3 separate regions of the Homo sapiens genome follow, and all the other regions are linked to region 3. The links are contacts of gene promoters, found by promoter capture Hi-C in blood cells and fetal thymus (Javierre and others, 2016). All regions are on one chromosome and are shown on one strand. The core of a region is centred on a gene start or on the middle of the fragment in contact, and the rest is flanking DNA. Distances in the headings are between cores, read along the strand shown. Region 1 has its middle 19 kb from the start of ALOX15B. Region 2 has its middle 4.5 kb from the start of TRG-GCC2-6. Region 3 holds the start of RANGRF (RAN guanine nucleotide release factor).

Region 1 (2,700 bases), core at 142-2,641, 230 kb before region 3:
ACACGGTCTCCTTGAACCCAGGTGAAGTTACACCTGAGCGTGGTCGTTGTGAAGAACGGTCTGTCCAGGAACTCCCGAGAACGTGTGGTCGGCCTTGCGGTAAGCTTGTGCACTCGGAGCATTCCAGGGACACCATGGGACAATCCAAAAGTAAACATTCTGCATATTTACATTTTATTAAGCTCCTCTTAAAGAGGGCAGGAATTAAGGCTAGCACAGAAAATTTGATTACTCTGTTTCCAACAGTAGAGCAATATCGTCCTTGGTTTCCTGAACATGGTACCATGGACTTCAAAGATTGGGAACAGGTGGGAATTGCCTTAAAACAAGTTTGTAAGGAAGGAAAATTTATCCCCCTAACAGCCTGGTCAAACTGGGCTATAGTTAAAGCAGCCTCGGAACCGTTTCAATCGGAAAATGAGGCTTATCCTCCAGCAGAAAGAATTTCTGCAGAGGAAGGTGGTGATGCTGCTGAAGGAGGAGAGGATAGTGAAGAAGATTTTGAGGAAAATACAGACAAACCTGGAGATGAGTTAATTTCTTTTGAGGAGCACGTGGGACCTTCAGCTGCTCCTAAAATAGAGAAGCCATATATGCCAAGATGTTTAAAACAAAGAAGGGCCTTGAGGAGCAGTCGGCTCCTCATTGGGATCATCCGGAGTGGCCGCCTCCAATAAAGCAATGTAGCTTGGAGCCTTGGAGGTCTGAATCTCAAATTTGCCCTGTTTCACGAATGAATGAATTGTGGCCTCAGGAACCACGAGCGCATGGTGTAGCACCAGTACAACATAAGGCTGCACTGCCATCTAATGTTAATGAATCGCCATTACAGTTTACTATTCGGCAGGCTAGATTAGCCGGAGATCTTGATGCCTGGCAGTTTGCAGTAGTTTTGCAACCCCCACGACAGCAAGGTGGAGCCCATCAAGCGGTATGGGAACCATTTTCTTTTAAGCTGCTCAAAGATCTTAAAGCAGCTGTTGGTCAGTATGGTCCCAATTCGCCTTTCATCCGATCGCTATTGCAATCTGTGGCTCAGAATAAGCTATTGACTCCGTGTGATTGGGAGATTTTAACGAAAGTTACACTTTCGCCCTCCCAATTTCTTCAGTTTAAGACTTGGTGGACCGACGAGGCTCAAAATCAAGATCGAAAAAACCGTGCTGCTAATCCTGCTATTGCCATTACATTTGAACAACTTCTAGGAATAGGGGGTCAATGGGGAACTGTAAACAACCATCAGGACTTCGAGATGATGCCATTGAACAAATTCGCAATTGCTGTTTGAGGGCATGGGAGAAAATTCAGGATCTGGGAACTACTTATCAGTCTTTTAATTCTATTAGACAAGGCTCAAAGGAACCATATCCTGATTTCATTGCTCGCCTTCAAGACGCAGCACAGAAGGCTCTCACTGATGAAAGTGCCAGGAAGGCCGGGTGCGGTGGCTCATGCCTGTAATCCCAGCACTTTGGGAGGCCGAGGTGGGCGGATCACCTGAGGTCGGGAGTTGGAGACCAGCCTGACCAACATGGAGAAACCCCGTCTCTACTAAAAATATAAAAATTAGCCGGGCGTGATGGCACATGTCTGTAATCCCAGCTACTCAGGAGGCTGAGGCAGGAGAATTGCTTGAACCCAGGAGGCGGAGGTTGCGGTGAGCCGAGATCACGCCACTGCACTCCAGCCTGGGTAACAAGAGCGAAACTCCGCCTCAAAAAAAAAAAAAAAAAAAGAAAGAAAGAAAGAAAGTGCCAGGAAGGTGATTGTAGAATTATTGGCTTGTGAGAATACTAACCCTGAATGCCAGTCAGCTATTCACCCAGTGAAAGGAAAGGTTCCGGTGGGAGTTGATGTGATTAATGAATATATCAGGGCATGTAATGGAGTTGGTGGAATCATGCATAAGGCTATGATAATGGTTCAAGCCACGACAGAGTTAAAAGTGGGAGGTCCAATTAAAAACTTTTCAGGCAATTGTTACAATTGTGGGCAATTTGGACACACAAAAAAGGAACGTAAGAACAAATCGAACAAACAGGCAAGATATAATCAAATAAAAGAACCACCTGGCTTATGTCCCAGGTGCCAGAAGGGTAAACATTGGGCTAATCAGTGTCACTTCAAATTTGACAAAAATGGCCAACCGTTACAACCGCAGTCGGGAAACAGGAAGAGGGGCCAGCCTCAGGCCCCGCTCCAAACGGGGGCATTCTCACTCCAGCAGTTGGTCCCTCAGTCGGTCATTGCCTCTAGTCCAACCACCATCATTGTCTCTTGCCCAACCACCACAGTAACACAATTGGCGCCAGCTACAGCAGGGAGTACAGGCTTAGATTTATGTTTCCCAAAAGCTATCTCTCTGCTTCCAGGGAAATCCCCTCAAAAAGTCCCCACTGGAGTATTTGGCCCTTTACCTGATGGACAGTTGGACTTGTTTTAGGAACATCTAGTCTAAACTTAAAAGGAGTTCAGATTCATACTGGGCTGATTGATTCAGATTTTGTGGGAGAAATTCAATTGGTTATTAGTTCCAGTATTCCTTGGAGTGCAAACCCAGGAGATAGAATTGCTCAGCTGTTGTTATTACCTTATGTAATAGTAGAAAAAAGTACAGTAAAAAGAGAAAGTGGTTTTGGCAGTACTGACAGTGAAGGAAAAGCAGCCTATTGAGTAAATCAAGCTTCTAAAAACAGACCT
Region 2 (2,700 bases), core at 42-2,541, 160 kb before region 3:
CTGCCGGGTTCAAGCGATTCTCCTGCCTCAGGCTCCCGAGTAGCTGGGATTACAGGCCTGTGCCACCACACCCCACTAACTTTTGTATTTTTAGTAGAGACGGGGTTTCACCATGTTGCTCAGGCTGGTCTCGATCTCCTGACCTCGTTATCTGCCAGCCTCGGCCTCCCGAAGTGCTTATCACCGAGCCTGGCGATAAGGATTTTTTTTTAGCCCCATTATAATCTTGCTCTTGTTGCCCAGGACGGAGTGCAATGGTGGGATCTCGGCTCACTGCAACCTCTGCCTCCCGGGTTCAAGCGATTCTCCTGCCTCAGCCTCTCGAATAGCTGCTCGAATATCTGGGATTACAGGCATTAGCCACCACGCCCGGCTAATTTTTGTATTTTTAGTAGAAACAGGGTTTCACCATGTTGGCCAGGCTGGTATTGAACTCCTGACCTCAAGTGATCTGCCCGCCTTGGCCTCCCAAAGTGCTGGGATTACAGGCGTACGCCATTGCATCCGGCAATCCCCATTATAATCATATATATATATATGCAGTCCATCATTGACCAAAACATTGTTATGCAGCGCATGACTGTAACTGGGTAGACGGTGGTGGTGGCTTTTAACTGAGATGGGAAAACCTGTGGGGTCGGGGAGAGGTTTAGGAAGAGAAATCAAGCATTATACTTTAGCCATATTAGTTAAGACATCCTGGCCAGGCGCGGTGGCTCACTTCTGTAATCCCAGCACTTTGGGAGGCCAAGGCGGGTGGATCACGAGGTCAGGGGTTTGAGATCAACCTGGCCAACATGGTGAAACACCGTCTCTACTAAAAATACAAAAACTAGCTGGGTATGGTGGCATGCGCCTGTGGTCTCAGCTACTCCAGAGGCTGAGGCAGGAGAATCTCTTGAACCCGGGAGGCAGAGGTTGCAGTGAGCCTAGACTGCGCTATTGCACTCCAGCCTCGGCAACAGAGGAAGACTCCGCTCAAAAAAAAGATATCTAGGTGGAGGTCACACATAGGTTAGGGATATACAAGTTTGGAGATCAGAGCTGGAGGGTAAATACGCTGGAGTGATTGGGAGATAGACGTCTTTTAATGCTATAAGACTGGAGCACCTAGAGAGAAAATGTGGCGGGAAAAGACTGAACATGGGCCGGGTGTGTTGGCTCATGCCTGTAATCTTAGCACTTTGGGAGGCTGAGGCGGGTGGATCACCTAAGGTCAGGAGTTCGAGGCCAGCCTGCCCAACATGACAAAACCCCGTCTCCACAAAAAATAGAAAAATTATCTGGGCATAGTGACGCACGCCTGTAGTCCCAGCTACTCAGGAGGCTGAGGCAGGAGAATCGTTTGAGCCCGGGAGGCCAAGGTTGCAGTCAGCCGAGATTGAGCCACTGCACTCCAGCCTGGGCATGAGAATCTGTCTCAAACAAAAAAAAAAGAAAAAAGAAGAAGAAGAAAAGAAAAGGCTGAACATGGACCTCTGGGGCACCCCAACACCTAGAGATTGGTTGAGGAGGAAGAATTGGCAACGGAGACTAGAGCGGTCAGAGAGGCAACAGGAAAACCAGGGGGAGTGGGGTGTTCTGGAAATCCAGAAAAGAGGGTGTATGAAGAAGGAGATTTTGCTATCTATTCCACAGCATGGTTAGTAATAACGTATTGTATATTATGAAATTATTAAAAGTCTATTTTAAATGTTCTCACCACGAAAAAATAAATAGATGAGGTGATGGATGTGTTAATTAGCTTGATTTAATCATTCTACAATGTATCCTTATATGGAAACATCACATTTTACCCCATAAATATATATAATTATTTGTCAATTAAAAATAATAAGTGAGGCCGGGCTCAGGGGCTCACACCTGTAATCCCAGCACTTTGGGAGGGTGAGGTGGGCAGATCAGGAAGTCAGGAGATCGAGACCATCCTGGCTAACACGGTGAAACCCCGTCTCTACTAAAAATACAAAAAAGATTAGCCAGGCATGGTGGCAGGCACCTGTGATCCCAGCTACTCGGGAGGCTGAGGCAGGAGAATGGTGTGAACCCCGGATGCGGAGCTTGCAGTGAGCTGAGATAGCGCTGCTGCATGCTAGCCTGGGCAACAGAGCAAGACTCCATCTCAAAAATAATAATAATAATAAGTGAATGAACACTTTTTTCTTTTTTTAACCTGTATCCAACAAGAATAAGTAATTTTTTCCTTTTTCTTTTTTCTTTTTTTGAGACAGAGTCTCAAAAGTCTATTTTAAATGTTCTCACCACGAAAAAATAAGTAGATGAGGTGACGGATGTGTTAATTAGCTTGATTTAATCGTTCTACAATGTATCCTTATATGGAAACATCACATTTTACCCCATAAATACATATAATTATTTGTCAATTAAAAATAATAAGGGAGGCCGGGCACAGTGGCTCACACCTGTAATCCCAGCACTTTGGGAGGCTGAGGTGGGCAGATCTCAAAAAAAAAAAAAAAAAATTAGCCGAGCATGGTGGTGGTGCCTGTAATCCCAGCTTCTCGGGAGGCTGAGGCAGGAGAATTGCTTGAACCCGGGAGGTGGAGGTTGCGGTGAGCCGAGATCATGCCACTGCACTCCAGCCTGGGCAACAGCAAGACTCCGTCTCAAAAAAAACAAATTGTGCATACCTTCGGCATTTCACTGCAACTGACAAAGGCCAGTCTCTACTCTGGCTGC
Region 3 (2,700 bases), core at 11-2,510:
AAGTTCGAGACTCACCTGACCAACATGGAGAAACTCCATCTCTACTAAAAATACAAAATTAGCTGGGTGTGGTGGTGCATGCCTGTAATCCAGCTACTTGGGAGGTTGGGGCAGGAGAACAGCTTGAACCCAGGAGGCGGAGGTTGCAGTGAGCCAAGATCATGCCATTGCACTCCAGCCTGGGCAACAAGAGTGAAACTCCATCTCAAAAACAAAACAAAACAAAAAAACCCAATATATATCAGGTCTGTTATGCTCTAAACACCGTGCCGGGTGCTGAGGATCAAAGATGAATAGAGAAATGAACTGAAATGATATAGTGAAGTTAAAACTTAAAGAACACAACAAATCTGTAAAAGACAAACAAAAGAGGGTTTAATCTGTGCTTCTGTCCAGGTGTGTGGAGCTGGGGGTGGGGTTGCACCTGCCCGGGAGCATTCCCAAGGCAAATATTTGAGAGGAATTAGATTTCTAATACCCAGGTTGGCTCTCACTTTCAGGAAGATGTGAGACCTGAATCCTAACCTGGACGCATTGTTCCCCTAATTCCCAGCAGCAGATCTATGAATTAGCGGTCTGGGTGGCAGCCCATTCTTCTTTCAGAGGCCCAGAACACCGTGAAACTATGCTTTCCTGACTCAAGAGACCCTACCTAGACGTGGGCCCCTTTGACGAGCACCTGCCCCTCAGGAGGGTCTCAGGCGACCTTCTTGGAAGGTGTGACCACTTGAAAAGGACGAGGAGGCCAGGCGCTGTGGCTCTCGCCTGTAATTCCAGCACTTAGGGAGCCGAGGCGGGAGGATCGCTTGAGTCCAGGAGTTTGAGGCCAGCCTGGGCAAGATTGGGAGACACTCCCCACCCCGCCCCATTTCTACAAGTAATTAAAAATTTAGCCGGGCGTGGTGGCGGGAGCAGGAGCCACTCAAGAGGCTGAGGCAGGAGTATCACTTGAGTCCTGGAGGTGGAGACTGCAGTGAGCGGTGATCGCGCCACTGCATTACAGCCTGGGCGACACAGCGAGACCTGTCAATCAATCAATCAATCAATCAATCAAGAGGAGGCTGGCGGGAGCATGCTCGTGACCACCGGGGGCGACATAGACCCTAACCCTAAGTCCAACCCCAAGGCAGACCCCACCGTCCCGCCAGGCGCACTCCTAAGAGCGCGGCTTCCGGAGCAAAGCCGCTGACCCCCGCCCCCAGGGTCTTGGCGCCGATTGGCCAACGAGAGCGCAGGGCGGAGCCAAATCTTAAAGGATCCGGGAGCTAAGCCAGACCCGGGTGGCGGTGGCAGCTGCGAAACCCAGGGAGCCGATGCCACGTGACCCAATGTGGACTTCTTTTAAACCTTTCTAATGCCCATAACCCAGCCTCAGACCCATGGAGCCCACGAGAGACTGCCCGCTGTTCGGGGGCGCCTTTTCCGCCATCCTCCCCATGGGGGCCATTGACGTAAGGTGAGAAGGCCGGGGCGCCCAGGGGCGGCTGACTGGGTGGGTTGTGGGAAGAGACCGGGGTCAACCAGGGTCTGCCTCGCCTCACTCCAGCGACCTCCGACCGGTCCCGGACAATCAAGAAGTTTTCTGCCATCCCGTGACGGACCAGAGCCTGATAGTGGAACTTCTCGAGCTGCAGGCCCACGTACGGGGCGAAGCGGCTGCGCGGTGAGGGAATGGCCCCCGGCTGGCCAATGGCAGGGGCGGGGTCGGACCAGTGGGCGGGGCCCGCGGCCGACGGTTAATCCGGGCGGTGAGACCACGCACGGGCCGGGAGCCAGGCCTGCAACTTAAAGATGCTCCCGGGGAGGCGACCAGAGATGTCCCTTCCTGACCCCGCTTCCCTACTCCAGGTACCACTTTGAGGATGTTGGTGGCGTGCAGGGGGCTAGGGCTGTCCATGTGGAGTCTGTTCAGCCTCTCAGTTTGGAGAACCTGGCCCTGAGGGGCCGCTGTCAAGAAGCCTGGGTCCTCTCTGGCAAGCAGCAGATAGCTAAGGAAAACCAGCAGGTGAGGGCCCGAGAGTGTGTAATGTCCTGGAAGGGCGGTAGCGGGGACGCAGAGATCCAGGTAAGCATCCTGACTCTGATCCCCTTAGGTAGCAAAGGACGTGACACTTCATCAGGCCTTGCTGAGGCTGCCCCAGTACCAGACTGATCTCTTGCTTACCTTCAATCAGCCCCCGTAAGGAGGAAGGAACGGGCGGGTATCTCATGACTGGGTTCCCAGGAGAATCGGGCTGGGAGGGACAGAACAGGGAGACTCACTGGTGGGATCCTCCAAGGAAGCAGGAGTGGGCCAGAGGTTTGGGGTAACTGATACCCAGGTCCTCTGGGGAACAGGAATTGGCAATTTCCAAACCTCAGGCCTGGATGATGTTCTGTCTCCATCTGTTCCCCCACCCCAAGCCCTGACAACAGGTCATCTCTTGGCCCCGAAAATCTGTCACCTGCACCCTGGAGCCTGGGTGACTTTGAACAGCTGGTGACCAGTCTGACCCTTCACGATCCTAACATCTTTGGTCCCCAGTAAAGGCGCTGAAGCACTGCATGATGTTGCTGAGAACTTGGGGACTCGGTTCTGTGAGGGGGAAAAGAGGTTGAAAAGAGGGTTTCCTCTTATTTCTTCCCTGTGCGTAAACATAAGACAATCCCTCTTCAGAATAAACTTGCTTTATAATCAATATAATCTCTGTGCCTTTGAAT

The links. The method cuts DNA at HindIII sites, captures the fragments that hold promoters and counts their contacts. A CHiCAGO score of 5 or more calls a contact.
Region 1: a fragment that was not itself captured here is called in contact with the fragment with the promoter of RANGRF in region 3 in 7 of 17 cell types (activated CD4 T cells, naive CD4 T cells, total B cells and 4 more); the score reaches 8.2 in activated CD4 T cells.
Region 2: a contact is called between a fragment that was not itself captured here and the fragment with the promoter of RANGRF in region 3, in 9 of 17 cell types (non-activated CD4 T cells, naive CD4 T cells, neutrophils and 6 more). The highest score is 9.2, in non-activated CD4 T cells.

What each region holds. Positions count from the first base shown.
Region 1 is chr17:8,057,050-8,059,749 of GRCh38, forward strand. No RefSeq gene overlaps it. Among named protein-coding and RNA genes, the nearest start is that of ALOX15B, 19 kb to the left of the region's middle. RefSeq lists enhancers at 628-1,145, 629-698. The HindIII fragment of the contact is 2,579 bases long and covers 103-2,681 here.
Region 2 is chr17:8,128,906-8,131,605 of GRCh38, forward strand. No RefSeq gene overlaps it. Among named protein-coding and RNA genes, the nearest start is that of TRG-GCC2-6, 4.5 kb to the left of the region's middle. The HindIII fragment of the contact is 6,180 bases long and covers 1-2,700 here.
Region 3 is chr17:8,287,410-8,290,109 of GRCh38, forward strand. It overlaps RANGRF (RAN guanine nucleotide release factor), which reads left to right and starts at 1,261. Exons shown (of 5, transcript NM_016492.5): 1 at 1,261-1,456; 2 at 1,547-1,663; 3 at 1,849-2,005; 4 at 2,094-2,179; 5 at 2,404-2,678. The coding sequence starts at 1,380. The coding sequence ends at 2,527. It overlaps SLC25A35 (solute carrier family 25 member 35), which reads right to left. Exons shown (of 5, transcript NM_001320870.2): 5 at 2,652-2,700. RefSeq lists enhancers at 924-1,153, 1,514-1,633, 1,914-1,983 and a silencer at 1,714-1,763. The HindIII fragment of the contact is 37,216 bases long and covers 1-2,700 here.